Linked DNA regions of Homo sapiens: region 1 is linked to region 2. The links are contacts of gene promoters, found by promoter capture Hi-C in blood cells and fetal thymus (Javierre and others, 2016). All regions are on one chromosome and are shown on one strand. The core of a region is centred on a gene start or on the middle of the fragment in contact, and the rest is flanking DNA. Distances in the headings are between cores, read along the strand shown.

The links. Contacts are between HindIII fragments. The CHiCAGO score rates a contact against its expected background, and 5 or more counts as called.
Region 1: a contact is called between a fragment that was not itself captured here and the fragment with the promoter of FANCC in region 2, in 1 of 17 cell types (endothelial precursors). The highest score is 5.0, in endothelial precursors.

Annotation. Positions count from the first base shown.
Region 1 is chr9:96,205,720-96,211,713 of GRCh38, reverse strand. No RefSeq gene overlaps it. Among named protein-coding and RNA genes, the nearest start is that of HSD17B3-AS1, 38 kb to the left of the region's middle. The HindIII fragment of the contact is 2,662 bases long and covers 2,329-4,990 here.
Region 2 is chr9:95,314,950-95,320,742 of GRCh38, reverse strand. FANCC (FA complementation group C) reads left to right here and starts at 3,034. Exons shown (of 15, transcript NM_000136.3): 1 at 3,034-3,217. RefSeq lists a silencer at 3,363-3,682. The HindIII fragment of the contact is 1,904 bases long and covers 2,475-4,378 here.

The DNA.
Region 1 (5,994 bases), core at 2,410-4,909, 890 kb before region 2:
TAGGCTGAACCAGTCATTGAGTACTCCATGGAGATAGTGGGATTTGAGGTTGAATTAAATGGGAGGGATACTGAGGGAAGAAAAGCAACGTGAGCTTTCAGAAGGCAGCTGGGATTGAGAATGGCGCTGGCTGCAGATGAAGCCTTCTGAGTGAATGGGAAAGATGTAGGCAGGCAAGTGGGGCTAATTGGTGGAGGAAAGCCAATGTGGAGAACTCGAATCAGATTCAAAAACAAAGAAGGCCTCTTACATGCGGAGGGGCCACGTGGGTTTGTTTCCTATCCCTTCAAAAGCTCACCAGGATGACAATAAAGGAAATACAAAGGTAAACCCACAAGGGCCAACATAGCTGTAGAAGAGAGACTGTAGGACAACCCTGAAAGATAGAGAGACGCTGAAGAAGTAGTAATGGACAGAACAGGCCAAAAATGTCCATCTTGAATGTCAGCAGAGGGGACACAAGTGAGAAGGAGCTTCCTTATCCCCTAGAACCTGTCAGGTCTCAAAGGCACCAGGTGCCATGCTCAGTGAAGCCAAAAACCAAGGGGTTGATAAAGGTCTGGATGAAGTTGCCCATTCACCCAGGCAACTGCCACCCTCTTCCCTCAGGAGGCTGGAGAGTTATCTGGTGAGAAATTCAGCTCTTCTGCTCTGGACTAGGGGCCATCAGACAGCGCAGTGCAGAAGAGAGGTCAGATGCAGGGTTAAAAATGGGGGGATATGGGGAACGTCTTCATATTGAATGGTGAGGTCTCCAGCTTTCTTACCTTTCTTTGCTCTCAGAACATGGGAAGGCAGTCACACACCAGTGGCCCCGCCCTCCTGCAGGCACGGGACTGAAGGACGCTTCCCTTAAGAAACGAAATGGACCCAGAGAGGAGACCTCCTGACACTGACCTGTTAGGGACCTCCATCAGGACGCTTGTCACCTGAGGACTCTGAAGGGACTCTCACACACTAAGAAGCTCTGCCAACCCCTCAAAGCTTTCATTCAGACTTTTAACACTTAAGTCTTAAATATGAGCAAATAGCCCCAGATTATCAGACATTAAAGAGCAACACTCACATGACAGAGACAGAATGAGGTGATCGTAGAGGAAAGAGAAAATGCATAGAACACACAAAAACTTAAAAAAAACCACCTCTCAGAGATAAAGTAAAATAATGCATCCATATATCAAGTATAAGACCCTTTAAAAATAAACAATCTGACAATAAGAAGAGCTTTTGAAACTTAAAGAAAAAAAGCAAAATAAAAAAAGTCAAGTTGAAGTAGAAAACAAAGGGAATGTTCCAAAGGAGGAACAAAAAGGCAGAGATGGACAAGAAGAACATAAATGTAAGAAGCTTAAGAGGACCAATCAAGGATATCTAACAATGATGAACCCAAAAATGAAGCCAGAGAAAGGAGAAGAAATAAAAAAGAAAAAGGCACTTTATCAGAACGTACGCAGGATATCTAGATCTGCACTGTTCAAGATGGTAGCCACTAGCTACCATGGTTAACTAAGTTGAAATGAGAATTAATTGAGATTAAATGAAATGAAAATTTCATTCCTCAGTTGTGCTAGCCACATTTCCAGTGTGTGATAGCCACGTGTGGGTGGTGGCTGCTATATTGGGCATGCAGATGAAGAATGTTCCCTCATCACAGAAAGCCCTGCCATGTGGAGCTGCTCTGCACTGAATCCATTAATTTCATAATTAGTGAAAAAACACTCATTCTTTATAACTCTAGGGATTCAAAATAATATCTCAGAAGCTTCTAGAAGAGAAGAAAAAGCAATGACACACAATGAAACAAGAATCATGATGACATTGCATTTCCCCATAGTGTCCTGGAAGCTGGAAGGCAGTCAAGTGATGTCCTCACACTTTTCAGGAAAACTTATGACCCACCCAGTTTTCTACATCCAGCCAAACTATGAGTCAAGTGTGAGGATAACATGAAGGCATCTCAAACTTGCAAGAACTGTCCGATTTTACCACTCTTATACTCCTTTTAGGAAGTTAATGCAGGATGTGCTCCAGTGGAATGTAAAGGTATCCTACGAACAAGCAAGAGGTGAGTTTAACAGAGCTAACTTCTGAGCCACAGCACCTGTTGGTGCATCACAAATCACCCTGAGACATGGCAGCTAAAAGCAACACGTGTTCTCATCTCACCTGCTTTCTGAGGGTCAGGAGTTTGGAAGCAGCTTAGATGGGTGGTTCTGGCTCAGGGCCCCCCATGAGGCTGCAGTCAAGCTGTCGCCCTGCAGTCACCTCAAGGCTTGCCTGGGGCTGAAGAAACCACTTCAGGCTCACTCACATGGTTGTTGGGAAGCTTTGGGTCCTCACTGGCAGCTCCCAGCCTGGCAAGTGGATTCTCTAGGGGGACTGATGGGGGAGAGAGAGACGGGGACGAGAACCCACGACAGAAGCTGCAGTTCATGAATTAATCTTGGATGTGGCCTGCCATTATTCCACTCATTAGCTGGAAGTCCCTAAATCCAGCCTACATGCACAAGAAAGGGAATTAAGCTCCACCACTTGAAGAGAAGAGTATCAAAGAATTTGTGGACTTATTTTAAAAACAACCACAGATGTCAAGAAGTAGTCTAAATATTTAGGGAGGAAATAATATCAATAGTACAGAAAAGATGCAGAGACTAGGAAAAGAAAGAACATTTCTCAATTCATTTTATGAGGCCAGCATAACATTGATATCAAAACTTGACAAGGACATTATAAGAAAGGGGAGTATAGGCCTGCATCTCTCATGAGCAGGCAGGCAGCAAATAAAATACAAAAATATATAAAAAAGATAATACATCATGAACAAGTGGCTTTTTTTTCTGGGAATATAAGGCTGGTTTAAAATTCAACATAATAATCATATTAATAGAATAAAGGAGAAAAAATGTCACATGATAATCTCAATAGATTCTAAACAAAGCATTAGACAAAATCCAGCACCTGTTTATGACTAATTAGAAATAGAAAGGCACTTCCATAATCTACTAAAGGATATCTCCGAAAGATCTGTGGGTGACACCTTATACAAAGATGAAATATTGGACACTTTCCTCCTGAAGTTGCAAACAAGTCAAGGATATCTGCTGTGGTCAATTCTAGTCAACATTGTCCTGGAGGTCCTAGCTGGACCAAGAATGCCTCCTAGCCATGCGGCAGCCTGAGTCCTTCACGTCCCCGTTGCCCTGTCCTCAGCCCTCTCCTCACCTCGCCACCAGCTACCAATTCCTGCCAACACTTGGTCCAGGCTAAGACAATATCTAATTGAAGAACAAATTATATGCTTACACCCAAATTCTGAGCTATTGGGCAAGGCCTCCAAAAGCCCTTTGCATAAGAATCCCATCCCCTGAGAAAGTGGTGGATGTAACACTGAGATGGGGTGCCCCAACTCTAGGTTTCGGGGGTCAACTCTTCCAAATGGAACAGGAGAAGCAAGGCTTGCTCTCTAGGTAGGAGGCTCCAGGAGGTAACCCCAAAGAAGAGGAAGGCAGAAACCATGGGTCTTGGTTGATGGGGACCATGCATGAAGCTCCTGGATCGTGAACTTCCAATGTTGACAGGCTCGTCCCCCAGTTCACTGCATTACAAAATATCCAATTTCTGTAAGAGTAGTTGGGCCCTTATAACGTGCCAGGCCTGCCTTCTACATGTTCTCTCACTTCATGTGCTTTCTACACATTCTCTCGCTCTCCCTCTCTCTCTCTTTAGAGTTAGGGTCTCACTTGTTGCCCAGGCTGGAGTGCAGTGGTGTGATTATGGTTCACTGCAGCCTCGACCTCCTGGGCTCAAGCCATCCTCCCACTTCAGCCTCCTGAGTAGTTGGGACTACAGGTGCACATGACCACGCCAGGCTAATTTTTCATTTTTATTATTTGTAGATACAGGGTATCACTATGTTGCCCAGGCTGGTTTTGAATTCTGGGCTCAAGTGATCCTCGACCTTGGCATCCCAAAGTGCTGGGTGTGACCCCCTGCACCCAGCCTACATGATCTTGATTCTGGCGTCTGCCCTAATGAGGGGTTAGCAAGGGAACAGAGAGCCAGAATCACAAGCTCAGCCAAAGCTGCTTTTCCTCTTTCCTGTGGCCTGGTGTCCTTCTTTCTTCCTAGCTTCCTCACGCCCTCTGCTGAAGGCGCGGTCCTAAGAATAGGAAGAGCTCTCCTCACCCTTTCCAGGGCCAGGCACTGGTGATGTGCGTGAGGCATACCCTCCATTGTTTCTCTGTCATGCTGGGCCCAGGAGGTGGGTTCTCCTCTGCCCATTTCATAGAAAAGAGAAAGGAAAAGTGAAGTAACTTGCCCTGATCACACAGCTAGGCCTCTGTTTCCAGGATCTTGGCTCTAACCATTGAACCCTATTGCCCCCCTGAGGCTGTGTCCGGGGGCCTTTGATTTGGCTTTTGACCCATAGGAGTTTTCCTCTTCCTGGAGCTGAGTCCTTAAAACCAGCAGCCCCAAACGAATGGCCCTTGCCCATGACAAAATGTCAGGCCAGCACGTCTGGGTGATTTTAAGGGAAGGTTTTCCCTAGCAGGGCCTCAAGACACAACCCACAGGTGGCACTCACTCCAAGGGACTCCCCAAACTGGGACCTGTCATCGGCGTGTCGTGGTTAGTCCCTCAGCAAAGCATTGGAGGGCCTAATGGGGAGGAAAGGGGAGACATGATGGCTCCCCCAACCCCTTAACCTCATGAAGCCTCACTTCTTTAACTACCAAGGATCCAGAGGGAAGAATTAAGGCCTGAAATCTCTTTCAATAAAAACTGTGAAGGAGGCCCCTGCTGCAGTGTCTGCAGAGGCGATACAGCAAGCCTTGCTGGAGGCTTTGACTTCAAAACCTGTCTGCACACTATTACCCTGCAAGCCCAGGGTATTTCAGAGGTGACTTCCTTCTCTATCCCTTCATTCATTTAGGCTTCAGTCTAAGGTGTGTTAAAGTCTGGTGAGAGTGATCACTTCCTATAATAAGCTTCTGTTTGTATTGCTATTAACCAACATCAAAGACAGCATTAGACTTTGATAGCAGTGCTTTTTTTCTTTTCTGCTGCCATGAAATTGAAGCTTATTCGTGGAAAAAAGGCAAGACCACGGGCAGTTCTGAATGGAGGAGGCAAAGGGTGTGTGTGGGTGTGAGGGTGTGTATAGATGCATGTGGGTGTGTGTGGATGCCTGTGGATGTGTGTGGGTGCATGTGGGTACATCTGGGTATATGTCTAAGGAAAAGATGGGATGGGGAGGTCTAGCAAGGCAAACATCTCCTTATTCAACAGCCGCTTGGCATCCATACAGCCCCTCCTCGCTCCAGCCAGAGTGCCCTCAGGAGGCGGCGAGGCAGCCCAGGCCTCCGGGGCTGGCACTGAAACTGTGACAGACCCTCCTCGTGGCAGAAGGAGTGTTCGCTGTTTGACACACATAGCTATGTGAGTGCATGTAAGCAGTACTGTGACCCTACTTCATATGACCACAACCTGTTGGGAGTGCTGAGTTGTTAGCGGAACGCTAAATCAGATGCAGGTTTCTCAGAGCCACTTGCAGCTGGGGGTAAGCCCACTCTTTGCGTAGCTGACAAACACAATGGAAAATGTGAGATTTGGGTTTGAGAGCTGACTTGGGCATCTCAGGGGAATGGCTCACAAGAAAGATGTTTGGCTTTTAGCAGCCAAACTGGAAATGTCCTGGTAACCGAAAGGGAACCATCTCAGCCACAGGCAAATCTCCATGTTCTCAGCAGCGCTCTGGGAGCTTGCAAGTAGTTCTCACAGTGTAAGGACTCAAGGCTATGCTTGGAATGGATTCAGAGGAGCAGAATTATTTTGTCTTCATGAACCAAAACGGGCACTACTGTTAAAGTTTGACTTTTATCCATCCGTCTCCAGAGAGATTAGATCAAACACCAAGATGAAAGTGTTGGAGATGCAGCCCAATAACAAAAAGAAACCCATGGCTGGGTGCGGTGGCTTAAGCATAGTCCTAGC
Region 2 (5,793 bases), core at 1,785-4,284:
GTGCCAAATAAGGACTGGAAACCAGGTGGGTGGTGTCTGAACTAATTCTGGAAGTAGGAGTCTTGGTACAATGGTTTCCACAACGTGGATTCTAAGACAGTTGATTCTATTTGTTGAACTTTGAAGGAAGGTTTGATAATGTCAGGAACTTTGCAGCACTCAGCCAATTGACTTGTTTTCCTCTAGAATGTAAAGATTTAATGTAAACGATGTAATAATTTTCACCTAAATAGGCCATTTTTCATTTTGCGACATTATTTGTGATTGGGTTCTATACTACAACCAAAACTGTGTTCCAGAGTAACACACACCTGGGCCCGGTGGCCCACGCCTGTAATTCCAGCATTTTGGTGCCACTGAGGTGGTTGGATTGCTTAAGCGCAGAGGTCGAGGCTGCAGTGAGCTGTGTTTGCACCACTGCACTTCAGCCTGGGTGAGAGTGAGATGCAGTCTCAAAACAAACAAATCAAAACCACACACACACACACACACACTCCCACACACAAACAAAAATTGGATCACCCATAATCAATTTTATGATTCAATTAAAAAGAGGGTTTGTATTGAAATATCTGTTTCTCTGGAAACTTTCTGGGCATTTTACAAAGTGAACATCTCACTATTGCTTAAAATATTATTAAGATAGTTCCATGTATATGAATGCCAGGCAAAATGAATCCCTATAAATATAAGTTTGGATCTTTATGCTATATATGCTTCCTATTTAGGTCTAATTTAGGCCTAAACATGGTGTCATTTCATATACTGCAAAGTTGGATGAGCCTAGCAATTCTTTATTAACCACTGAACTAAAAAGACAGAAAACTGGGATATGGCAAGACATCAATCATTAACAAACACTAAAAATGATTTTTCAGCGAATATGTAAAAGGATGTGGGTACCAAAATAGATAATTTCTCTCAAGAAATACATACTTTAATTGCTTTCTTTGCTGATAAATGCAGAACTTAAACGTCAACTCACTCTCGATTTGTTACCACAGAGGTGACTTTCTCATGGTCAAGGTGCCACGATGAGTGCCCCTCAGGCATGTATTTCCCTACCCAGGACTTGCTTTTGATTTATCCATGTCACACTATGCACACATCAAAAACACATCGACCTCTCTGCTGTAAAACAGAACGAAATCATGTCCTTTGCAGCAACATGGATGGAGCTGGAGGACATTATCCTAAGTGAACAAACTCAGAAACAGAAAATCAAATATTGCATGTTCTCATAAGCGGGAGCTAAACAATAGGTATACATGTACATAAGAATGGGAATAACAAGACACTGGGGACTCCAAAAAGGGAGAGGGTGGGAAGGGGGTGAGGGCTGAAAAATTAGCTATTGGGTACAATGTTCAATGTTTGGGGGACAGGTACACCAGAAGCCCAATCCCCACCATTACACAATATACCTATGTAACAAGCAAGCACATGTACCCCCGAATCTAAAATTAAAAAACAATCAAAAAGCACCGACTTCCTTAACTGGCATGGAATAGTTTCGAGAATGGATGTAAACACCGAATTCCTTAATGTAGTTGCAGATTCTGCCAGTTTTGTCTCAACCTCTGGATCGGTTCCTTTTTTTAACTACCTTTAATTCTTAAACAGATTGTTGCTATTGCTATGCTATATACTTATTGTATCACTTATAAATGTATAACCTCTGCAAATTAGTCTCTGAATTGAAAGTATTCATTGGTAAAACGGGTATTTCTTCACCATAGGAATAGTTGGACATGTTTAAATACTTGAGAGCTATTTTTATTACAAGCACACACAGCTTTGTGGTGTTTTTTGTTGAGACAGAGTCTCGCTCTGTTGCCCAGGCTGGAGTGCAGTAGTGCGATCTTGGCTTACTGCAACCTTCGCCTCCTGGGTTCAAGCAATTCTCCTGCCTCAGCCTCCTAAGTAGCCGGGAGTACACACTAATTTTTGTATTTTTAGTAGAGACGGGTTTTTGCCATGTTGGCCAGGCTGGTCTCAAACTCTTGACCTCAGGTGATCCACCCGCCTCAGCTTCCCAAAGTGCTGGGATTAGAGGTGTGAGCCACCGCGCCCGGCCTGTAGTGTGTTTTTGAACGTATATGTGAAGTTGTAGCTTTTTTTTTTTTTTTTTTGAGACGGAGTCTCCCTCTGTCGCCAGGCTGGAGTGCAGTGGCGCGATCTCGGCTCACTGCAACCTCTGACTCCCTGGTTCAAGCTATTCTGCCTCAGCCTCCAGAGTAGCTGAGATTACAGGCGCCCGCCACCGCGCCCGGTTAAACGTTTTGTATTTTTAGTAGAGACGGCGTTTCACCATGTTGGCCAGAATGGTCTCGATCTTCTGACCTCGTGATCCGCCCGCCTTGGCCTTCCAAAGTGCTGGGATTACAGGCCTGAGACACAGCGCCCGACCTAAGCTGTAGTTTTATGATTATGATTTATGGTTGTGAGGCATTGATTTAAGACATTTTAAAGCTTAAGTCGTCAGATCCTAGAAGAAAAAAAAATTCACCAAGACAAGCTAATGCCATTGTCATAAATGGGAGTTTGGAGAAAATTTTATTAATATTTGTTTGGGTGGTTTATGTACAGCGTTGAACTGATTTGAACCCCGACCAAACACTGTATGGAACTAATGTACGGTAGGGGAAATCATTAACTGAAGATGCCTTTTTTGTTGCTATTGTTTAGAACGCAGTTAGAAAATCTTATTTTAGAGGTTTTACCCCGTTGACAAAGCCTCAACTTTTCTTCAAAAGAACTAATTTCCATTTTACCTCCCCTACATTTTGAACAGAATATGGAAGAAGCCAGCGCCCCTTCTCCGCGGGCGCTGCTGCAACCCTGCTCCCGCCGGGGCTTCCGCGCGAAACCGGGAACACTGGAGCAGTACCGACTCCGCTCGCCTAGAACCCGCCCCAGCCGGGCCCACTTCCGCCAGAGCCCTGGCCGCGCCCGCCCCGCCCCACGGACCCGAGATTCGTCGGAATTTTCCCGCGACGCCGCGGGAGCGCGCGGGGCCGCTAGCCAGGCCCCAGAATGCACTGCTGACACGTGTGCGCGCGCGCGGCTCCACTGCCGGGCGACCGCGGGAAAATTCCAAAAAAACTCAAAAAGCCAATACGAGGCAAAGCCAAATTTTCAAGCCACAGATCCCGGGCGGTGGCTTCCTTTCCGCCACTGCCCAAACTGCTGAAGCAGCTCCCGCGAGGACCACCCGGTAAGCGGCAGGCCGCAGAACGCAGCGAGGGCGGAGGCTTCCCTCGGGGGTCTGGCCGACACGTCAGCGGCGAGAGCGGGAGGAGGAGGCGAGGGGCAAGAGGGAAGGCTCGCGAGAGCGGGTGGGCCAGGCGCGCCTTGCGGTGGGCGAGAGGGGTTCCCGCCGGCGCAGGGCTGTGGCTAAGGCTGAGGCGGGAGGCGGGAGGCGGGAGGCGGAAGGTGGCGGGCGGTGCCAGCCCGCGGGGCGGGGCCAGGGCGGGGAAAGCGGGGGCGGGAGCCGGCGCTGGGGTCGCGCGGAAGGGAGCCCCCGGAGAGGCGGGAGCCGGGTGTTGGCGTTTTGGTTCTTTTTGTTCATTGAGCGCAGGCAGCTATGTCTTCTTCAAAGGAGAGGAGCAAAGGTGAATTTCTCTGCCTCGGACTCGTGGGAGCCGTGAAAAGCTCGCCCCTTTGAGCCGGTCGCCCTCTACAGCTGGCCTCGTCCTCCCCGTCCCTCACACCCCTGCCCCCAAACCCCATTCGCCGGGGCGCCAGGAGGGGCGAGGTCCAATTAGAGGAGCCCGGGGCGCGGCTGTTACCCCTCCCGCCCTCCGCCTTTTATTCCCGGAGGGAGGCGGGTTCGCAGAGGCCAGTGTCTTCCCTCCATTCTTTTTGTGGACGCCAGGCCATATCTTCAAAGCCCGTGAGAGATTTTTCAGGTGCTGTTTGTTGGTTTGCTCTTTTTAATTTTTTAGGTGGGTGCGTTTACAACTACGAACCCTCTATGATCTTATGTGTCCAGCGCACCGAATGGGGGAAAAGACTTGGAGTTTTATAACATGGGAAATTGGGTACCAGAATCTTAAGGGAAGAGACCAAGGAGTTTTCTAGCAAAGTCCTGTATGTGCCTGGACTTTTGTTCTAATCTGAAACTTGGAAAACTCCCGGGCATCTGATTTTATTCTAACTTGTGCCCCATTTAATGCATCTAAACTGTGATGTGATTTGACTTAGCATTTATCAAATGAGCAGAGCACTTTTGGGCCACCCAACTTCAGCTCTTTGTGGCTGTCACTCACTGTCAGTGATATGCCCTCAGACAGATCGTTTTCTCCTTACTCCCCTGAAAGGTTGTTACAAACAGTAGAATTCATACCATGTGTTGAGATCATTCATTACCTAAGCTTAGATGGAAAACATGTTCATTGCGACTTTATACATTAAACTTGAATTGATGTTTCAATGTTATGTGCTGTACCAGAGTCACCTGGAAATAAGCACTCATATACATTATTCATATACAAGAAAGGCTGCATCGAAAAAGAATTTGTTTTCCTAGATATATCAGAGATCTTTTTCACCAACCCACTACTCCCAGTAATAGAGCCTGCTTCTTGAGAACTGGACTAATTATACTTTGTATATTATACATTCGAATTTATTTTTGCTTTATTCGGTCATATTTTCTCTTGATTTCTCCAAAAACGTTTACCAAGGCATCAGAAAAGAAAAGCAGGCTCTATATTGGTATTTTTTGTTTTGTCCTCTAATAAAAAGCATTAACTTGATTGATTGGCTGGTTGTGGAAGATGTGTTGCTGCATGTATGTGCAACTGTGCATGTACATTTTAAAACAAATGGTACTTTTAACCAGTTCCATATTTCAGCAGGTAGTTCCAATAACAATTATACAAATTTCGTGTTTATGAGAACCAGCTACAGGGAGGCCAGCCTGGCCAGTAGAAAGTTGGATTGATTATCTGGGCCATGGAGAGAGCCAGAGGAAACTCACATGAGTGGTAGTTCCAAGTTGGTAGTGTTAGGGCCTCAAATCGGGCTGGAAATGAGCACCAAATGATTTTTAAAAGTTTTATTTTAGGCTGGGATATGTGCATTCTCTGTCTTGTTTGTGGATCTTGAGTGATTGACTTAATGTGAAAAAATACATACAGGAGAAGCACCTTGGAAGTTTTGCAATGTTTTAATAAAAATGCAGAAGTGGAGAAGGAAAGGCAATTCAGATAACAGGCAGAGCATGGTGGCTTATGCCTGTAATCCCAGCACTTTGGGAAGCGGAGGCGGAAGGATCACTTGATCCCAGGAGTTCGAGTCCAGCGTGGGCAACAGAGAGAGCCCTGTCTCTACAAAAAGTTAAGAAATTAGCCGGCCATAGTGATGCGGGGCTGTGGTCCCAGTTACTCGGGAGGCTGAGGTGGAGGATCACCTGAGTTCAGGAGGTCGAGGCCACAGTGAACTGTGATTGCGCCACTGCACTCCACACTGGGCAGCAGACTGAGACCGTGTCTGGAAAAATAAAATTGGTAACAATTCAGATTGGCCACCAGAGTTGGACTGGGGGCTAGCAGGCAATGGTTTTACCTCCATTTTGAGATTGGCATCTTCTAACTCAAGTTTAATACGGGACTGAGGGTAAGAGACCTGCATGCCTTTTATGTCAGCATTACATTATCTTGATTATGGCAGCTTTATAGTAAGTTTTGAAATTAAGTAGTGTAAGTTATCCAATGTTTTTCTTCATTTTCAAAATTGTTTTGGCGGTTCAGGGTTCCTTACATTTCCATATAAATTTTAGTATCAGTT